2 separate regions of the Homo sapiens genome follow, and region 2 is linked to region 1. The links are contacts of gene promoters, found by promoter capture Hi-C in blood cells and fetal thymus (Javierre and others, 2016). All regions are on one chromosome and are shown on one strand. Each heading gives the region's core, a stretch centred on a gene start or on the middle of the fragment in contact. The rest is flanking DNA. Distances are from core to core; before and after follow the strand shown.

Region 1 (6,022 bases), core at 1,882-4,381:
AAACATATTCTGGATACAAGTCCTTTATTAAATATATAATTTTCAAACATTTTACCCCGGTCAGCAGCTTACTTGTCTATTTTTTCAACCATGTAGTTGGAAAGCTAAAGTTTTTAACTTTGAGGAAGTCCAATTTTTCAATTTCTTTGCTTATAGATTGTGGTTTTGTTGTCTCATCTATGAAATCTTCACCTGACCCATTGTCAAAAAGATTTTCTCCTGTTTTTTTTTTTTCTGCTAGAAGTTTTATAGCATCAAATTTTATATTTAGATCTCAGGTCCATTTTGAATAGACTTTTGTATATAGTGTGATATCTGAGTCACAGTTTATATTTGTGCATGTCAATATTCACTTGTCCCAGCACCATTTGTTGAAACAATAATCCTTTCTCCACTGAATCACCATTGCATCTTTGTCAAACTCAGTTGTCCATATACTTGTGGGTCTATAGCTGGACTCTTTATTCTGTTCCTTTGATCTACTAATCCATCTTGATGCCAATAGCACACTGTCTGGATTACTGTATGTTTGTAAGGAGTCTTGAAATCAGGTAGTGTTTGTCTTCTAATTTTGTTCTTTATCAAAGTTGTACTTCATAGTTGATATGGTTTGGAACTGTGTCCCTACCCAAATCTCATGTCAAATTGTAATCCCCAATGTTGGATATGAGGACTGGTGGGAGGTGATTGGATCGTGAGAGTGGATTTCTCCCTTTGGTTCTGTTCTCATAATAGAATTCTCATAAGATCTGGTTGTTTACAAGTGTGTAGCACCTTCCCTGCCATGTAAAACGCCTGCTTCCGCTTTACCTTTCGCCATGAGTTAAAGCTCCCTGAGGCCTCTCCAGAAGCAGATGCCTCTATGGTTCCTATATAGCCTGCAGAACCGTAAGCCATGAAAACCCCTTTTTTAAAATAAATCACCCAGTTTCATGTGTTTGTTTTTAGCAATATGGGAACAGACTAATAGAGTCTAGGTCTTTTACATGTCCATATGAATGTTAGAATCAGCCTGTCGGTTTCTTTAAAAATTTTTTAATAGGATTTCCATTTGAATTGCTCTGAATCTATAGATCAGTTTTGGAAGAATTGACATCTTAACAATACTGAATCTTCTCAGTATTGTTTGTGACCCATGAGCATGGTAAGTCCTCCACTTATTTAGGTCTTTAATTCTCTCAGCAATGATGTGTGGTGTTCAGTGTACAGGCACTGCACATCTGTGGACAGATTGTTCATAAATATTTCATACTCTTGATGATGCTATACATGGCTTTGTTTGTTAAACACAATTGCTAATTACTATATTTTCACAGTACTATCAGCAACCAAGTGTTTAACATCAGTGAGGCATTTTTTTGGTTGAAAGCACAGCTTACTCTAGGATGGAAAAGGTATTTGATCCTTAACCTGTGTTTACCTGTATTTCCGTATCTGCTTTTACAAGTCATTGGCGATATATTGAAACTATGGAGGAAAATGTTCCAGAGACAATTCTACAGGTCATCTTCAGAAATCACACCAAAAGAACATAGTTTAGTAGCTTTCAACTTTATATGTGTGGTCAGAAATGATTTTGTTGCAATGTGTGGCTCAGGCTGGAGTGCAATGGTGCAATCATAGCTCACTGCAGCCTTGAACTCCCAGGCTCAAGCAATCCTCTCACCTCAGCCTCCTGAATAACTGACTACAGGTGTGTGCCCCCATGCTCAGCTAAACTTAAAAACATTTTTCAGAGACAGAGTTTTGCTATGTTGTTTAGACTTCTCTCACACTCCTAACCTCAAGCAATCCTCCTACCTCAGCCATCTGAGTAGCTGGGATTATAGCCACGAGCCACCATGCCTGGCGAGATTTACTTCTTTACCCACCAGTAAATCAACCTCAATAAATTCTTGGAATTTGGAGTGGTGAGAGGGTGAGCAAGCATATATGTATGTGAGTATGTATACATTTGTATGTCACTGAAGCTGTCAGGAATTTTTATTGTAAGGACTACTTGAGGTTAATTACTGTGCATCATGTCAATCCTATTTAGTTCCTAGTACATATTAGGAACAAGCTCGGGATAGTGGTGTTTGTTTTTTCTCAGCTTTCCTTGGCCAGAATGGTTACCATGGTGACTCAGTGACTGCGGTGTGATTTGGTGCAGACTGAGCATCCATTTAGGATTCTTGCCCGAATCTCTCACACCACATTGCCTGTCCATCAGATATAGTATTAGCTTTTCATCTTATGTGTAATTAATCACTTTTCAAGGGCTCAGAAGAAAGTTGCTTCACTTATCTGAGGTTAAGCTACAGATAACATAAAAAGACACTAAGTACCTTGAAATAAAAGGAAATGAGTTGTTGATATTCCTCTCCTGCCCCAATCTCTATTGGGAGGTTAGAAGAGAAATTCTTGGAATCATACAGCATGTGCTCTTTTGTGTCTTGCTTCTTTCAGTCAACATAATGTATGTGAAATTAATATTTATTGTGGTCTATATTGTAGATTGCTTATTCTCATTGGTGTAAAGTATTATATTATTTGGATATTTCACACTATATTTATCTGTGATGGAGATTTGTGTATTTTCCAGTTTTTGACATCTCATGAATAATGGTGTTATGAATGTTCATGTTCATTCTTTTGGATGAACATATATTTTCTTTTTTAAAAAAATCTTATTATCAATAATATTTGAACTATTTAATATCTGTCATCTTAAAATTATTATTCATAACACTTTTTACCTTGTAGCTATAGACAAATACATTCCCATTTTAGCAGGTTAATGAAATTATCTTTATAATACTATAGAAGCATTTATTTGAAGAATACCAGAAGGAACATCCTGAAAACCAAGAACTCAAAATGCCTTTTTATCCCAAAGACATGTTTTACAAATATATACCCATTCATCCATTTGTTTTCACAAATGAAGCTACAGAGAACTTTGAATATAATGATGTGCAGCAGGGGCTTATTCCTAACATATTTAAAATTTAGGTCAACCAAACTTCTCTGTGGAAACTGAGTTGAAATCCGAAATCTTACAATCCTAATTTCGAGCCACATTCATTTTAACTTAATTTTAACATGTTTTGCAAAATGTTCCAATATAAACTTAATAGTTCCTATACCACCAAACATGGATCCTCATGATTTTATTTTCTAGATTGGCTGATAGGCTGAATAATCTCCTGTAGGGTAAGAAGTGTCAACTGTATCAAGCACATGGAGGTGGACTGGCTACAGGAGAAAGGTTTTCCAAATCAAATTCCAAGTATTTCTTTCTCTTTTTATATTACCATTAGGAGAAATAACTAATGTAGATGACGGGTTGATGGGTGCAGCAAACCACCATGGCACGTGTATACCTATGTAACAAACCTGTACATTCTCCACATGTATCCCAGAACTTAAAAGTATAATAAAAAAATTTAACAAAATGGTGTTAGATTCAGAGGCTTGATTCAATTTAGATTTGTTTTGGTCAGAAGTACTTCATATGTGGTATTGTTTATTCCTATAGTGTTACACAGGGGGCTCATTGTGTCTAATTGTCTCTCCTCTTGTGATGTTAAGATTAATTACTATGTTCAAGTATTGTTAAGCTGATCCATCCATTATAAAATTTCCCATCCCTTTTTCACCTCGATTTTTCTGCAGCGTCTAAGGATTGTTGCTTAGTTCTATATTCATTAAAGGTCATAAAAGGATGATATTCTAATTCTATAATTTTCTCTGCTTTATTAGCTGGAATTATTCTATTAAATAAACTTTCATAAACCATTAGGTTACACTGAGGGATAGTATGTATAGAAAGGGTTGGATGAGTGCCTAATTCTTTTGCAATATTTCCACTTTTCAAAACAATGAGTTGTTTCCCTAGGGTTCTCCAAAGGCAAGCAATGAGTTGATATTGTTTGTTTTATTTTATTTTTCTTTTAGAGTGTCATCATGAGCTGTAGAAGTTTTTATATTATAATGTGTTTTAATCCATAGTAGTCATTATTTTATTTAATGTTCAAATTGCTTCATCTTTGTCCAGCGAGAGCCCCTTAAGCTTGGCTTCTGAGTCTTTTTGACGCACTCTCTGGCATGATAGTTTGGTCCAGATTCATCTAGTAGAATGGCTACACAGACCTAAACTCAGTCATTTCTCTAAGATAACCTAGTTCCTTTCAGTGTGATGTGTTTTAAGTGGATTCAATATGGGCACTAGAGTTGCTCATTGCTACTGGGTCTATCATGTTTCTTCACCTTTCTAGTGCATGGAGCCAGTGTATATATATTATATTTTTAAGGGAAAAGACATTATTGGCTTCTGTCCTGGGCTGTTTTTCCTTCTCTTTATAGGTAATGATTTTTTAAATCAATTTTCATTAAAACTTTCCAATTTTAAAAATATAAGCAAATAGAATGTTTCTATTAGTTTTCTCCTATTCCATATATATAAGGTGACATATTCTACACTGGTGGAGTCCAATAGAATTTCTACAAAGGTGAAAATATTCTATGTCTCAACTGTCCAACATAGTAGCCACTAGCTACCTGTGACTATTAAACACCTAAAATGTGGTGAGTGTGACTGAGGAAGTGAATTTAAAATTCCATTTAAATTTAGTTAACTTAAATAGCCATGAGTGGCCAGTGGGTATGGTATGGGACAACAGCAGCTCTACACATTTTTCTGCACTTTGCTTTATTCACTTAATGGTATATCCTGGAAATCACTACATAGCAGCAGAGAGAGGGAATCTTCCTTGCTTGTTATACCGGCATTGAAATCTAGGATGTAGATGCACCTTAGATTATTCAGTCAGTCCTTTATTGGTGGACATCTGTCTTATTTCCAGTCTTCTGCTGTTACAATTTGTTCTGCCAAGAATGACCTTGTGCTTCTGCCTTTTTATCTTTTTGAATTGTATCTTTGGGATACATTCTCCGAAGATTGTTGGTTCCAAGATAAAATAATTGTGCCCTATGAAATAGAAGATTTGAAACAGAGAGCATTTAGAAATATAGTAGCAATAAATGAATGTTGGTTTTATCTTATCATTCCTTTGATTCCATGTACTCTCTGCTCTCTTATTTTCTTTCTAGTGTGACGTGGGTGAAGGAGTTCTTATTGAGCCATGGGAGGAAGAAATAGTACAGAAGAGCAAAGAATAATAATGAGTCAGCTAGACAGAAGACAGGAGTCATCAGATTTGTACCCTAGTTACTCGACCCATCAACTGACTGTGGTTTTTGGGGTGAGTCTCTTCCCTCTGTTGGCCTCTGGTCTAACACAGAAGGATACTCAGTATAGAAATAGTGGTTAGGGGAGGGGGCTTTTGGGTGAGAAGGACTTGGATTTGACCCTGATAACCATTACTTGCTGGTTGCATGATCTGTATCAACCAATTTATCTACCGTGTGCCCTGTAACTATTTATGTCTTTTATTATTATTCCTATCATGCATACAAAGACTGAATGATAAAAGTGGGGATTACTTTGCCAGGTATTAAAGTGTTCTTTGAGCGTATAATTTCATAAGTTTTGGACAGAGTGGTTGACATGCAGGTTAAAGAAGTCTAAAGAAAGCTCTTGAGTAGACCCTGGCATATAACGTCATTTAAGATGCTGCAAGTATGGCATTTCTACTCAAATGCATTGTTAAGGAATTGGGTCTGGGCCAGCTGTAAAGGGTTCATTAAAAAGCAAAGTTAGATTATATCTTATACCTTGTCATGTACTTAGAATGTTTCATCCACATGTTAGTACTTAAGACAAAAGCAAAACTGAAAATAACAACAAAAAACCCAGGATGCTATACTGTACATATAATTATAACAGCTTTATGAATTGTATTTGTAATGCATGTACAGTACATGTGCATATATCCATGTATAAAAAATCCTTAGAAAGATCTAGTACCATGTTAATTTTAATTATGATGGGATTGCTGGCTATTGATATTTTTAACCTCTGCATTTGGCTCAATATTAAACATTTGCTAAGGTGAGAGTATGGATTGTACATACTCCA
Region 2 (6,022 bases), core at 1,768-4,267, 270 kb before region 1:
CTGCACCCGCAGCCTCTGGGGCTACAGCTATACTCCCACCTCAGCCTCCAGAGTAGTTGGGACTACAGGCACTAGGTACCATGCTGGAGTACTTTTTTTTTTTTTTTTTTTTTTTTTTTTTTGTAGAGGCGGTGTCTCGCTTTGTGGCCCCTTTTCAGAGAACTTTTGTTCACTATACTGAGCTACAATGATAGTGGTTCTGCTCCCTGACAAATACCGGGATTCAGCTAATCTCTGCAGCTTTGCCAGTCAGCTGAGCTAGGATAGGATTAACATGCTCATGTGTAAACTGATGTGACCAACAAGGCCACATGCTCCAGCATGGAACTGAAGGATAATAGTTGCTTCTGCCTCATAAGACTGATGTGAGGATAAAATGAGATGTGTAAAGTACTTTGCAGATACAGTGCTTGATAAAGTGCAGCTATTATTGTTGGAGGCAAGGCTGCTTACAGTCCGGGCCAAGTTTATCTTCAGGCAATTATTATTATTATTATTTCTGAGACAGGGTCTCCCTCTGTTGCCCAGACTGGAGTGCAGTGGCACAATCTCGGCACACTGCAACCTCTGCCTCCCAGGCTCAAGCATTCTTGTTCCTCAGCCTCCTGAGTAGCTGGAATTATAGGCTTGAACCACCACGCCTGGCTAATTTTTGTATTTTTAGTTTTGCAATGTTGGCCAGACTGGTCTTGAACTCCTGACCTCAAGCTCAAGTGATATGCCCTCTTTGGCCTCCCAAAGTGCTGGGATTACAGGCATGAGCCACCATGCCCTGCCCAGACAATTATTTTGAATCTTCTTTAACACCAAGACAAATAGGGCATAAAGCATGACTTAAAATTTTTTAACCTGGAAATATTTTAAAGTAGTTGTAACCCGCTAAGCTATTAAAGACAAACAAACAACAACACATGTGCAGAAATTCCATAAGCACCCATATATTACCTGGCTTTGAGAAATGTAATTTACTTTTGTCCTTTCAGATAAGCCAGCTGCAGAATATATCCTGAGGTACCTGCTTTATGGAATTATTCACACTATTCACCAACAGGAAGGTAGGAACATCTACTGAAAATGACAAATTTTTTTTTTAGGAAAGCTGATATGTATACTTTCTTCCTAGCAGTAATTAGCTGAGCCATTTGTTTGCTAAGACCACTCTGAGCTTGTGATAATATCATCTGCGTATAGGATAATTTGTGTGTTTCTGTTCACTTGTGATAATATCATCTGCATATAGGATAATTTTTATGTTTCTCTTCACTTTTTTTTGGATAATGTGGGCTGATTTAATATTTTAAGTCAAATGAGATTTCACCAAATTTCTATCTGGTACATGTTGGGGACATGGAAGGAAGCTTTGATTGCAAGAGCCACATTTCCCTGTTGTTTTTTAAAGTTGGTCTACATGTGAATTCATCATCAACTAGAATTAAAACCATCTATACACTTTCAGATATCAGTTGGCTTGTTTGGTTTTAATATTGTAACCCTCAGAATCAGCTTTGTATTTTGCCCCTTTGATGCTTGAAAGATAGGGTTTCACATAATATATAGAAGATCCATGAAGCTAGTTCCTTTGGAACCTAGAGCTGGGTGACTTTCCACATTGGGGGGCAAAACAGTCCAAGCCTATTTAATGTTTTTCAATCTTAAATACCATTGCATTTATCTAAATACAGACTTACATGTCTATATCTTTTTTTTTTTTAACATGACTCTTTGTTTCTCATGGGACTGTGCAAGTTTCTCCCTGATTCTATCTTTTCCACTGTTTCTGTGGAAGGATGTTAGCCTCATTCTTCACCATGCTCCCTGTCTCCCTGCCTACCCCTTTCTGTCTTTAGTTGAGCTCCATGAGGGCTGAGACTGTATCTCTTTTATTAACTGCTATACCACAAACACTTTGCATAATACTTGGCACAGATAATTTATCAAATAAATATTTTTTGAGAGTTTGAGTAAAATGTTAAGACTGGATTTCTTTGGACTGATCCATAATCAGTAAAACACTCATTACCTTATCTGATATTTTCCTTTAGAATAAAGTCAATCAATTCAAGGAGTCTCAGAACAGGAGCACATAGACACCAAACTTTGTGGGACAACAAATATAATGAAGAGTATGTTTGCGTCTTTCAAACAAGTGAGTGAACGAGGAAAATCTTTCCCAATATATAAATATTGACTTGAAGTCCTTACCTGCTTATTGATGTAGGAATGGCCAAGTATTGATTTCGTAAATATAATAATGAGTATTTCTTTTATTTGTTACTTAATATTCATGAAGTTAACTGTTAATGTCAAAATAGCCACACTACCTGTGTTCACAGTTAAGGAAATCCAAACAGAGAAGGACTTGGTATCTTTTTTGTTGTTGTTGTATAAATTTAGGGGATACAAGTGCAGTTTTGATATGTTATATCTTACATTACCCTTCCTTGGCTTCTCAGACTTAGCCTGGATAGAGACAAAAGGCCAGACTGAATAGCTTGTGTTTATATCAATCTTGATTCATGTGCCCTCTGACTCCCCAAATGATTGAGTGGGTGGAAGCACGCACATGCATTGAGCCAGTGTGTGCATAAATGCTGTCACATGTAAGGCAAGAAGCAGGGTGACACAGAAAGAGCAAGTCACAAGTTGTCAGGACTCTAAATTGAAGTTTTGTTTGTATCCATGCCCTAAAAACCCAGAGCCACGTGAAGTCAAGGCCCTTAACACCCACCCCTCCCACATACTGAGGGGAGAATTCAGATGCCCACTGGAGTCAGCCGATCAGACTGCCTTTTGCACACTCCTTGCCTCCACTCCAGTTTACCGTGGAAGACCTGTCTGCTATGGCTGAATCTGAGAGAGATCCTTGAGTGTAAGATCTGGTCTTGATCACCTTTCTACCCACACTGCCCCCAAACTTGAACTTCCTGGGGTTTAACACAATACTTAGTAGTTTCTCAATGAATGTTCACAGAACGAATTAAGGAATGAACAAATGTTGCTCTGGACAAAGCTGCAGCTTCCACGTCCTGCATAACTGCACTCAGTACTGACCCTGAAGATAGGAAAAGCAATACAACTGGTGCTGTAAGAAAATGTTTCTTGTTTATACTGCTGCATCTTGATCTTCGGCTGATCTCAGCACAAAGAGAGCTCTTTCAGTTAGAAAAAAGGAGGTTTATGGTGTGTGGGAGAGCTAAGAACAATGGGTTCAATTGATAGACTGGAGATGCTCTCAGCTTCTGAGAGCCTAGAAACTCCATCTATAGATTCATCCCAGAGGCAGAGCCAAATAAGGGCAGATGGAAAACATAGCTTTCTTGGGAACTGGCTTTCGGTTCCTCTGAGGCAAAAATACAATCACTCTGTAGAACCCTGAATCAATTCTCCAAAATATGGTGCTGTGTCCTTGTTTGCAGTGTCTTAAAATAAGTCCCTGTCATATTTTTATTCTTTATGTCTTAAAGTCGTTCAACCAGACTCGCTTGCAGAATATTAATTGTGGTTAAGCAGAAATCAGGAAATTAAATTGAAACTGCTTTTGAATGGAGCTCCTTAACTGATGACTGACTTGTCATCCCTCCAGCTAAAGATTCCTTTCTCTCCAGTCATTTGCCAGCTGCAACTATGGGGCAATGAAATGATTTTAAGACAGCTTTCTTTAAGCTGGTCATCAGAGTGCTGTCCAAGGGTGCCAAATTCTAACCTAGGGTTGTGAAAGGGCTTTAATGCTATGTCCCCGGTGGGCTAGTAGGCTGGCCATCCAGGGTGGTAGGTGTCACTAATTTATTTTAGTACTGCCCTGCCACAGCCTGTTTACATTTACGTTGCCCTTTCCATACCTGCTCTGTCCTTTAAGTACTAAACCTTCCATCCAGTACTATCCAAATAAAACTAAATATTAGTCACGTATGAATTACTAAGGGATCATTACTGGAATATCCAAACAATTTAAAGAGAAGGTAACAATAACTTAAATCTAAATGCACCGGGGACTGGGGCACCACTAAGGTATTGAAAAAGTAACCATAGTTGACTCTGAACATTCTGAAACCCAACTTCGAAGAGAAAAGAAACCTTTAAGTAGGCAATAAATTGGTTTCAATATCTGCGTTTTAACACAAGCTCAGACATGTACTTACTGGATTTCTTTGGGCAAATTACTTTGCTTCTATTTCTTAGTGTCTTCAACTATAAAAGTAGAAGTAATCTATTCATATACTATTTATTTCAGAGAAATGTTATGAGAATGACTTGGATGAGCTGAAAAATGAATGATCTCCTTGAACAAGGTACGATTATTAAGTTTCTATTGTGAAGTCAAATAGAACAATTCACTCAAAGGACACGATGTTTGATTGAGAACATTCTTAATTTTATTTTCTTTAATTTTATAAAATACACTTTGTAAGATAAGTTTCTAAAAGTTTATCCTTTATGTGTGTTAAAATTGCAATTCTATATCAGAAATGAAGGAAACACTTTCAGTTGATTAACTCTCTTTGTGTGTGTATATATGTGTATGTATGCATGTGAGGTTTTCAGGGAAGGGTTGGTTATTTGTTATGTTATTAAATCAAAACAAAACACAAGGTACGGATTACTTCACTGTCCTTTATCTTGATTGGTTTCTTACAAAACATTTTCCCTCTCCTCCTTCTATGCAGCCTGGAAGCTTATCTTGTATACTGGTTTGAAAACAAGTATCAAGTGTCTTTTTGTAAAGCTCTTACATCTCCTTAAATATTGCTGAAACCACTTTGGGGGAAAAGAACAACACAACTCTTTACAACAAAAGAACTGTAGTACAAATCTTTCCTTCAATTAAAACCAATCAGACTTTTTTTTTTTTTAACCCAAAGTTAACAAAAACAGGAAAAGACTGAAATCTGGGAGCTATTCAGGTCTCAAACTCTTTCTGCCTGTCCTTTTTCCTGGAAGCTTACCAACTGAATAGCTGATGACTGGTGCATTCTGTTATGTGATCTATATCAGGAGAAAATAACCTTTATGTTAAACCTAACTCTTAACACACCAAGATAACATTGCTAAGTAAAATCATTTTCCATTAGCTAGAAAGAACGATCAGATTACTCAAATTGAGATTCAAATTCACCAAATCTGTTTCTGCAAAGGCAGAATACTTGTAGAAAATCCCAATAGATTCAACTAGCCAATTTTTAATATCATTTGTGATGCTTAATGTCCAATTTTCCTAGTTTAAAAAACAGTCATAATCAAAGAATTATTCTCCAGACATTTCTGATGCAACCCCAAATAAGTAATAAACAAACTGGAATACATGAAATGTGCATCATTCTAAAACAAATCAAGACCTTCAAATCACCTACGATGACTGAATGGATAATACCCCATGAAATGAGCACCATTGTGAAGATATGACAGAGGCCAGAGTACACAACTAATTAACAGAAAAAAAGACATGCTATCCAAAGAGTTATCTATCCTGTGTCTACCAGAGGGCCATCTCAGGTTACACCATTAGCCACCAGCAACTGCTGCTCCTCAGGCCAGTCTGTTCTCATGTAAGCTAGTTTCCTTCTATTCTCAGCTCCTTGGAAACCACAGGGTTGTCATGGTAGCTGTTATCAAGGAGAAGGGAGTGAGAAGATGCTGACAACACCCTGTTTCTCTTCCCTAACGAGGTGTAAGGCCAGATGCCCCCTTCGTCTACACAGATTCTACGCTCCCTTATGCTGTAAGTAAGGTTGGCTGAGTTAGGGCTTCAGTAGTCCATCGCCATCGGGGTCAGTGCTCTCTTTCTGTGGGTGAAAGATCCTTGCTTTGACCCCCTTCTCCCAGCTGCAATAGGCAGATTTGGGCAAACGCTCTTATTGTTTTTCTGACATTCTTTTTTCTTCTATCTTCAGTGGTAATAGAGAGACCAGAATGAATTCCATTTTGTACACCAAAGAGAATATATTTGGCCCCTATAGATGGCAAGAGGACCAAAGACATTCCTTCTCTGTACCTGAGCATCTTTCCTTCCACTTTGTTTCCATCA

What was found. Contacts are between HindIII fragments. The CHiCAGO score rates a contact against its expected background, and 5 or more counts as called.
Region 2: a contact is called between a fragment that was not itself captured here and the fragment with the promoter of RAB40A in region 1, in 1 of 17 cell types (activated CD4 T cells). The highest score is 5.0, in activated CD4 T cells.

Annotation. Positions count from the first base shown.
Region 1 is chrX:103,516,598-103,522,619 of GRCh38, reverse strand. It overlaps RAB40A (RAB40A, member RAS oncogene family), which reads left to right and starts at 3,131. Exons shown (of 3, transcript NM_080879.3): 1 at 3,131-3,250; 2 at 5,095-5,246. LL0XNC01-250H12.3 (a long non-coding RNA gene) reads right to left here. Exons shown (of 6, transcript NR_188440.1): 6 at 4,677-4,972. The HindIII fragment of the contact is 4,467 bases long and covers 1-4,056 here.
Region 2 is chrX:103,790,948-103,796,969 of GRCh38, reverse strand. It overlaps PLP1 (proteolipid protein 1), which reads right to left. Exons shown (of 7, transcript NM_000533.5): 7 at 4,351-6,022. It also overlaps a transcript of RAB9B not described here. Among named protein-coding and RNA genes, the nearest start is that of PLP1, 17 kb to the right of the region's middle. The HindIII fragment of the contact is 3,314 bases long and covers 1,361-4,674 here.